3 separate regions of the Homo sapiens genome follow, and regions 1 and 3 are each linked to region 2. Evidence: promoter capture Hi-C in 16 types of primary human blood cells and fetal thymus (Javierre and others, 2016). All regions are on one chromosome and are shown on one strand. Each heading gives the region's core, a stretch centred on a gene start or on the middle of the fragment in contact. The rest is flanking DNA. Distances are from core to core; before and after follow the strand shown. Region 1 has its middle 100 kb from the start of RGS9. Region 2 holds the start of APOH (apolipoprotein H). Region 3 overlaps CACNG5 (calcium voltage-gated channel auxiliary subunit gamma 5).

Region 1 (3,093 bases), core at 141-2,640, 990 kb after region 2:
GTGCTCAGCCCCACGTGGTCTCACTGCTGCAGTAAATGCTAGCACCAACAATGTGAAAGTGTTCCTAACAGTTCCAGCTAGGATGTAAGGGCATGATTATCCTCATACATGCATTATTGGTAGCAATCTAAATTAGTACAGACTTTAAAAAGGTGATTTGGTGGCCAGGCATGGTGGCTCATGCCTGTAATCCCAGCACTTTGAGAGGCCAAGGTGGGAGGATTGCTTGAGCCCAGGAGTTTGAGACCATCCTGGCCAACATAGGGAGACCCCTGTCTCTACAAACAAATATAATAAAATAAATTTTTTAAAAAGACTATTTGGCATGGAAGATTGGTCTTAAAATATGCATACTCTAACCCAGCGATTCCTCTTTTTAGTTTCTTTTCTTTTCCTTTTTTTTTTTTTTTTTTTTTGAGACAAGCTCTCACTCTGTCATTCAGGCTGGAACTGGAGCACAATGGTGCAATCAAAGCTTACTGCAGCCTCGACCTCCCAGGCTCAAGCAATCCTCCCACCTCAGCCTGCCAAGTAGCTGGGGCTATAGGCATGCACCACCACACAGCTAATTTTTGAAAAATTTTGTGTAGAGACAGGGTCCCCTATGTTGCCCAAGCTTATCTTCAACTCCTGGGCTCAAGCAATCCTCCCACTTTGGCCTCCCAAAGTGCTGGGATTACAGGCATAAGCCACCATACCTGGCCTTTGGTTTCCATCCCAGGGAGATACTTATAGATGCGCACAGAGGAATGTACAAGGATGTTCATTACAACAGCATTTGTTTTGATGAAAAGTTGGAAACAATGTTCATCTGTAGGAGAATAATCGAACTATGATACAAGCCTACCTTATGAATTCCCCAGAGCTGCTGTAACAAAGGACCGCAAACAAGGTGGCTTAAAACAACGGAAATTAATTCTCTATTAGTTCTGGAGGCTACAAGTCCAAAGTCAAGGTTTTGGCAGGGCTGTGCTCCCTCTGAGGCTAGGGGAGGGTCCTTTGTTGCCTCTTCCAGCCTCTGATGGCTCCAAGCAATCCCTGGGGTTCCACAGCTTACAGCTGCCTCACTCCAATCTCTGCCTCCATCTTCACATGAACTTCTTACCTTTGTGTGCCTCTGTGTTGTCCTCCCACTACATATGAAGACTCTGGTCATTGGGCTTATGGCCCACCCTAATCCAGCACGACTAGTGTTTCAGTAAAATCACCTTTAGAAATTTTTTTTTTTTGAGATGGAGTCTCACTCTGTTGCCCAGGCTGGAGGGTAATGGCGTGATCTCTGCTCACTGCAACCTCCGCCTCCCAGGTTCAAGCAATTCTCCTGCCTCAGCCTCCTGAGTAGCTGGGATTACAGGCGCACACCACCACACCCGGCTAATTTTTGTATTTTTTAGTAGAAACGGGGTGTCACCATGTTGGTCAGGCTGGTCTTGAACTTGTGATCTCGTGATCCGCCCGCCTCGGCCTCCCAAAGTGCTGGGATTACAGGCGTGAGCCACCATGCCCAGCTAGAAATCTTTTTAAAAAGACAAAATTCCAGGCCACTGACTGCTGTGAAGTCATGGACTTTATCTGTTTTAACAAGAATGCTAGAGATTAAATGGGAGATATAAATGTGAAATAATAAAAGGGCCACTCATTCACAATATTGGCCTCCATTGATAAAGTGATATATCTGGACATTTTCTATATAATCAGGAGATTTTTAACTCAATAACTGACAACTCAACATCTTCAACACCCTAAACCCCAAACTGATAGTGGTGCTGCTTTGGGCTCTGTACATAGACGAGGCTGTGGACATGAGTTGTGCCCCGCAGAAGTTCCCATTGTTGAAATATATTGAGATGAAGGTAATGAGCCATACACACAAAATTCAAGAACCATGACACAGGGACAAAGGCCTACCCAGAAGACTGGCCAGAAGTCCCAAGAGTACTGTGTTACTGCAATCCTTCAAATTCCCTTTGCCTAGAAGCCCAAGAATAGGGAGAAAAGACTAAGGTTTAGCAGAGGGAAGGACCAGGACTGCGCATTCTACAAAAAAAGCAGAGACCTCTGCCATCTAGGTCTTTCTAATGTCTAACTAATCCCATATGCAATGGAAGCCTGCGACTTGGGTCAAGTATGTCAAGTATGTGGATGCTGCTGGATAAAAAGCTTGTTGTGTTCCTGTATTAGTCCATTCTTACACTGCTATAAAGAACTACCCGAGACTGGGTAATTTATAAAGAAAAGAGGTTTAATTGATTCATGGTTCTGCAGGCTGTACCGGAGGCTTCAGGAAACTTACAATCATGGTGGAAAGCAAAGGGAAAGCCAGCACATCTTACATGGTGGGAGCAGGAGAAAGAAAATGAAGCTGGAGGTGCTACACACTTTTAAACAACCAGATGTTGTGAGAGCTCACTCACTATCACAAGAACAGCAAGGGAAAAATCCACCACCATGATCCAATCACCTCCCATCAGGTCCCTCCCCTGACATTGGAAATTACAATCCAACATGAGATTTGGGTGGAGACACAGAGCCAGCCATAACAGTTCCTGAATAGGTGCCCAGATTTCCCTACAGCTTGAAATAGGCACTGCTCTTTCTTTGTCCCTGAACACTGACTCCTAGTCTTCCAAGGACACGATCATCCCAGAAAATACTTTATTTCAGCTCCTTACTGAAGTAGTTGTCTCCTTCATTCAGTGCCTTCTCATTTTATATGGGATCATATTTTAACATGTTATTTTTCATTTATCAAATGTAAGTGTTCTGTGATTATTTTCTTATGTTTCTGACCTTTTCTGCTACATGTTCATCAAAGGAACGAATGCTTTCTACACACTAGCCCAATACACACACACAGAGCCACATTCTGGGGCCAGCAAGACTCTCTCAAGGTTCCTCTTTGCTTCAACACTACCTTGGAGGAAATATTCATCAAGCATTCACCAGGTCCCAGCCACTGATCTGAGCTGTTTACATAAGTTAGCTGGTGATCCTCACACCCTGACCCCCAAGGAGGCTGTGTTATTCTGATGTCAAGTTTATGGATGAGAGAACTGAGGTTTGGAGAGCTTTAGTGAAATGCTCAAGGCCACT
Region 2 (2,752 bases), core at 250-2,749:
ACAGAACGACTTGGCTCCTCCTGACTTCATTAGTTTTCTTTCTTCTTCATTCATCAAGGAGATTCTCCACAATAAAGCGGAACCTGGGAATTATCCAGAGAACAAGAATCTCCTTCCCCTTAGAAGGACAAATAGGGAAGGACCACTGTTATTTCACATTAGTGGCAGCACACTCTTCTTATCATGGAACACAATGTTCATTAGGATCGTAATTTAAGAATCATCTGCCTGACAGATGGAGATTTCTCAAGCTGATGTGTCTCAGGGAATTTTAGACCTCTGGATATAAACCAAGATCACCCAAATGAGAGCAAGCGGAGGTTATTTATTCAGAGCTTGCTATAGGAAGGGAGGCAGCCATTAACAGTTGTGTTTGGCAGAGACTCAAAGTCAAAGTCAGACAGAGGAGTGGGAAAGCTTTATAATAGAAAAAAGGAAAGGCTTCAGGTGTGCTCCAACGGATTGTTGGTATGGGGAGGATGGAAGGAAACTAACTAGAAGTGAGGTGTCCATGTGATTGGTTAGAGAAATATGTTTGGATTTCTCTGGTTGGCCTTAAGTTGGGCCAACTGCTATAGAGGTTGTAGGTTTGGCTTTCTAGACCTGTTGCTACAGATGTGTGGGTCAGAGTTCTGTTTTCACATATGGCCTGGCTATTGTCCATTTATATATCCTTTTTTTTTTTTTTAGAGCAAATGATGTAGAAGAGAACTAGGGAATCAAAGACAACCCCCCTTCCGAACCCTCTCAAGCAACAACATCAGCACTGGCCCATTATCTTATCCTACTCAAGTTTTTTTTTCTTCTTCGAGTCCCAAGTTGTTAATTTCAAATCAATTTTCAAATTCCTGAAACAGATCTAGAAACCTGTCTAGACAGATCCAAGACATATTAAGAATGGATGAGGAGGACTTTGTATTGATCTGACGTAAGAGAAGATAGAGAATTCAAGGATAGCTCTAAGGTCCTAACTGGAGCTATAGGAGCTTGCAAGAGAGGATGTTGAGCTCAGTTTGTAGGGAATTAAAGTTGTAAGTGCCTCCTGGAAGACATTCTTTGTAATTATACATCTGAAAACTGGAACATCATTTTAGAGAGGTGGAGACTGAGAACAGAGAGTAGGTGTTTGTCCAAAGTTTATATGCCAAGGCTGTGAGTGAAACAGGAGCTTCGATCTTTTGGTGTTCCATCTACAACATACACAAAACAAAAGATGGAGAATGAGAAGTCCAGGCAACCCCGGAAACAACAAGTTTCTGTCAAAAGCAATAATGAACTGTTTTGTGCCATTAACAAAAACGTTATGAAGACAGAAACCATCTCCCAAAGATTTCATAACAGAGCCACATAAGTGGAAAGTAAATGATTAAAGAATGTGGGTCTCAGAGTTCCATTCAAATCATGATACTTTATCTTCTATTTACAAAGATAAAAGTACACCAGAAAATGGTTAATGTTTAAGCGCTTTCATATTTGGCTCTGTCTTTTTAGCAGACGAAAACCACTTTGGTAGTGCCAGTGTGACTCATCCACAATGATTTCTCCAGTGCTCATCTTGTTCTCGAGTTTTCTCTGCCATGTTGCTATTGCAGGACGGAGTAAGTACTTTTTGCTTTTGAAAAAATAATTAATATATCCAACCCCTTCGTATATGTCAGGGATCAATAATGATAAGTAGGCCGGGCGTGCTTGCTCACATCTGTAATCTCAGCACTTTGGGAGGCCAAGGCAGGTGGATCACCTGAGGTCAGGAGTTCGAGACCAGTCTGGCCAACATGGTGAAACCCCGTCTTTATGAAAAATACAAAAATTAGCTGGGCATCATGGCCGAGGTGGGCGAATCAGTTGAGGTCAGGAATTCGAGCCCAGCCTGGGCAACATAGTGAAACCCTGTCTTTACTAAAAACACAAAAATTAGCCGGGCGTGATGGCAGGCGCCTGTAATCCCAGCCACTCGGGAGGCTGAGGCAGGAGAATTGCTTGAACCTGGGAGGCAGAGGTTGCAGTGAGCCGAGGTCCCCCCATTGCACTCCAGTCTGGGCAACAAGAGCAAAACTCAGTCAACAATAATAATAATAAGAAGAAGAATAATTAAATTCTTTTTTTTTTTTTTTGAGACAGAGTCTCGCTCTGTCGCCAGGCTGAAGTGCAGTGGTGCGATCTCGGCTCACTGCAAGCTCCGCCTCCTGGGTTCACTCCATTCTCCTGCTTCAGCTTCCCGAGTAGCTGGGACCACAGGCGCCCGCCACCACACCCGGCTAATTTTTTGTATTTTTAGTAGAGACGGGGTTTCACCGTGTTAGCCAGGTTGGTCTCTATCTCCTGACCTCGTGATCCACCCGCCTCAGCCTCCCAAAGTGCTGGGATTACAGGTGTGAGCAACTGCGCCCAGCTGATAACTAAATTCTCTTTAGAGTGGATGCTGGAGGGACTGGATTGATACTGATTCTTTAATATTGCCATGTGTAAAGCTCCTCTGTAAGATACGTAGCCAATTTAAGCCTCAGCATACTGACCTGTAAAATGGGGATAATTATAATACCTCCTTCAAATGGTTGTTGAGGGGATTAGATGAGATAGTGTATATGAGGTATTTGGCATGCAACTTGGTATGCTTATAATTGGTAACAGTACACACATTTTTCATTTGTGGGCTTAGCTGAACTTTAAAATGCAAATAGAGATTTGTTAACCATCTGCTTTGTGCCCTCTTTCAGCCTGTCCCAAGCCAGATGATTTACCATTTTCCACA
Region 3 (2,870 bases), core at 259-2,758, 640 kb before region 2:
TTCTCCTGGATAACATGGAGGAAGAGACTAATAATAAACACCAAAGTACATTGAACGTTTATCATTGTTAGGCATCCTGTTAAGCACCTTACTCCCCATTTTAATCCTGGCTATTCTATTACCACACCCATTTTACAGGTGAGCAAACTGATGATCAGTGAGGTTAAGAAGCTTGCACAAGAGCACTCAGCTGGCAAATGTTGGTGCCTGCATTTGAACCTTACCTTGCCCCACTCCCAAGCCCTTTTTCAAGGCTTGCGTTCTCAAACTCCCACCCCATGAGTTTATCCAAAGTGGGGTCCATGGAGCAATAATTCCATGGAATATTCTAGAAAAAGTGACTCTGGTTAAAAGGAAAAAAAAAAAAAAAACAGCTTGTGAGAAGCACTGCACCTAGCTCTTGAAGAACCGCATTGCACATTATGGTAAAGGCTTTGAAAAGCCTGCTTAGCTTTGCTTATTTCTGTATTTTCCAAACTTATTTGAGCAAAGAAAAAAAAAAGACATCATGTTCTGTGAAACCCACTTTGGGAACCACACTGCCTGCCAGGAAGAATAGGAAGACCTGCCTTGCTCACTCCACAAAATTGCTGGTGTGATTAAACACGACAGCAGATATGACTATGCTTTGAAAAAAGTCTAAAGCATGATCCTGGTATAAGGTATTGTTATTAAGCAACAGTGGACTAAGCCCCTGAGTCTTGCAGAGAGAATGGATCAGAGCTTCTGAAGCACGACTGCTGTTGCCTGGTCGAAGCTGAGCAGCCAATCTTAATGTTAAGCTTGGCAGGGAGATGAAAAAGATTCATGTTTGGAGATTTGGAAAGATGAAAGTGGAGAGGAGATTGGATCTTAATCTACAAAAGCGAGAAATAAAAGAGGCTGAAAGTGACCTTGCCTGCCAAACTCTACAATAGCAGATCCTAAAGCCTGGAATATACCTAGGAAAACCAAAAAGTTTCATCTATTTCCAGAGTATGTAATACATTTATGGAATGCTACCTGGGGTGGAAAATAGCAATCTTATTCATTACAAAATTATATCTATGCTTCTATTATGTAATCCTATTTATTTATAAATAAATCATATTATTGACTGAGTAGGTTTAGCTCCCAGGCACTGTGCAAAATCCTTCAGGTACAGGGTTTCATCAGGACCTCACGATAACCCTGTGAGTAGGTGGGATCAGCCCCACTTTGTGGATGGAGAAACTCAGGGTTAGAGATGTGGAGTAGCCTACAGGAAAGCACAGGTGAGCCGTAGGCTGGCTTTAAACCCAGGTCTAACTCCAAAGTCTATGCTTGGACTACATCATCTCGCTACTGAAGAAATATGGGCTCAAAGAGTGTTGGGAAGAAGGAAAATAATCCAAAGTAGGTCACTCAGGCTATCTAGAAATGTACGAGACACAGTATTCAGAAATGTTTCTTTAGAAGTGGCCAAGTGTCACATAAAGGCTTCTCGTTTGATACTATAGGGCATATTGTTGGGAGTCATCCAGTCATATCTTCTGGTAGCTTCTTGGAGGTGCACTCTGACCCAGGATTTCTACTTCTGAAACCCACCTAGTGGGGTGGCAGGACTAATACTTTCCTCAAAGCACACACAGGAAATCAAGATCCAGAGGGGAGAAGTGCCTGGGATAACCCAAACAGTTACTTGAAAAGATAAAAGTGTGCACCAGCAATAGTTTAGATCCTGACCCAGTGCTTTTTCCTTCTGTATTGCGCAGAAAATTATATAACACAGAAAATGAAAATTACCTGCACTTTCCCACTCTTAGAACACCATCATCATTAATATCTTAGTTCATTGCCTTTTAGTCTTTTTTTCTACGTAGTTGTGCATGTGTGTACATATTCTCTCACCCAGTGTCTTCAGTAGGGACAGGAAGGCCCTTGAAGACACCCTAGTCTGAACTGTATTCCTAGACCCTTGTTCGAGCTTCTGCTTTTACATGGTTCCTTCTCTATCCCATGAATCTCATGTTCATTTGATTTTTCTTATAGGAGAGGAGCCATTTTTTATAAGTTGCTATCACAAGATAAAATGTTTACACTATAATAGTAAATTAATGAAGTTGAATGCAACATCACACTTTTAACTTAAACTCAACCGTATACAAAATTCACAGACTGGAAAGAAATAACCCAAAATGTTGATGATGGCTGCTTCCAGGTAATTAGGTTATGCATGGTTTTTAAAATACTTCTCTGTGCTCAACAAAGCTTCTCAAAGAACATGTATTGTTTCCAGAATCAGAGAAGAAAACTAAATTAAAGATTAGAGTGATCTATTCTCCAATCACTCTCCTTGTATACAAAAGTGCAGGGCTCCAGCTAAACTCCTGGGCTGGAGATGGCAACATGTAGTGTCATCTTTTGAGGGCTGGGTTCCAGAAGCAGGCAGCCTTCTTGAGTTTTTTGTTTGTTTGTTTGTTTCTTTTTGAGATGGAGTCTCGCTCTGTCACCCAGGCTGGAATGCCGTGGTGCGATCTTGGCTCACTGCAAGCTCCGCCTCCCAGGTGCACGCCATTCTCCTGCCTCAGCCTCCTGAGTAGCTGGGACTACAGGTGCCTGCCACCACGCCCGGCTAATTTTTTTGTATTTTTAGTAGAAACAGGAGCTTTTTAAGATGATTACCCAGGCGCCATTACCTCTAAGTATTAGCTTGTTAATTATCAGGAATTAACAGTCGCTAATTATCATCCATGACTAGCAATTAGGGAGAAATGTCTTGTGGAGATTAAATCATTAATGGCACATTCCCCTGCTCAAGCCAATAATAAAAGGACTTGCAATGAAGTGCTTAGGTGCCCAGAGGTAGGTGAGGTTAGAGGAGCAAGTGAGAGCCCAGTTATCAATTGCTG

Evidence for each region. Contacts are between HindIII fragments. The CHiCAGO score rates a contact against its expected background, and 5 or more counts as called.
Region 1: a fragment that was not itself captured here is called in contact with the fragment with the promoter of APOH in region 2 in 1 of 17 cell types (M2 macrophages); the score reaches 5.4 in M2 macrophages.
Region 3: a contact is called between a fragment that was not itself captured here and the fragment with the promoter of APOH in region 2, in 1 of 17 cell types (M2 macrophages). The highest score is 5.0, in M2 macrophages.

Annotation. Positions count from the first base shown.
Region 1 is chr17:65,239,642-65,242,734 of GRCh38, reverse strand. No RefSeq gene overlaps it. Among named protein-coding and RNA genes, the nearest start is that of RGS9, 100 kb to the right of the region's middle. The HindIII fragment of the contact is 1,544 bases long and covers 619-2,162 here.
Region 2 is chr17:66,228,162-66,230,913 of GRCh38, reverse strand. It overlaps APOH (apolipoprotein H), which reads left to right and starts at 1,499. Exons shown (of 8, transcript NM_000042.3): 1 at 1,499-1,598; 2 at 2,718-2,752. The coding sequence starts at 1,535. The HindIII fragment of the contact is 12,618 bases long and covers 420-2,752 here.
Region 3 is chr17:66,871,438-66,874,307 of GRCh38, reverse strand. The region is part of intron 1 of CACNG5 (calcium voltage-gated channel auxiliary subunit gamma 5); the gene reads right to left. Among named protein-coding and RNA genes, the nearest start is that of CACNG5, 38 kb to the right of the region's middle. The HindIII fragment of the contact is 1,447 bases long and covers 785-2,231 here.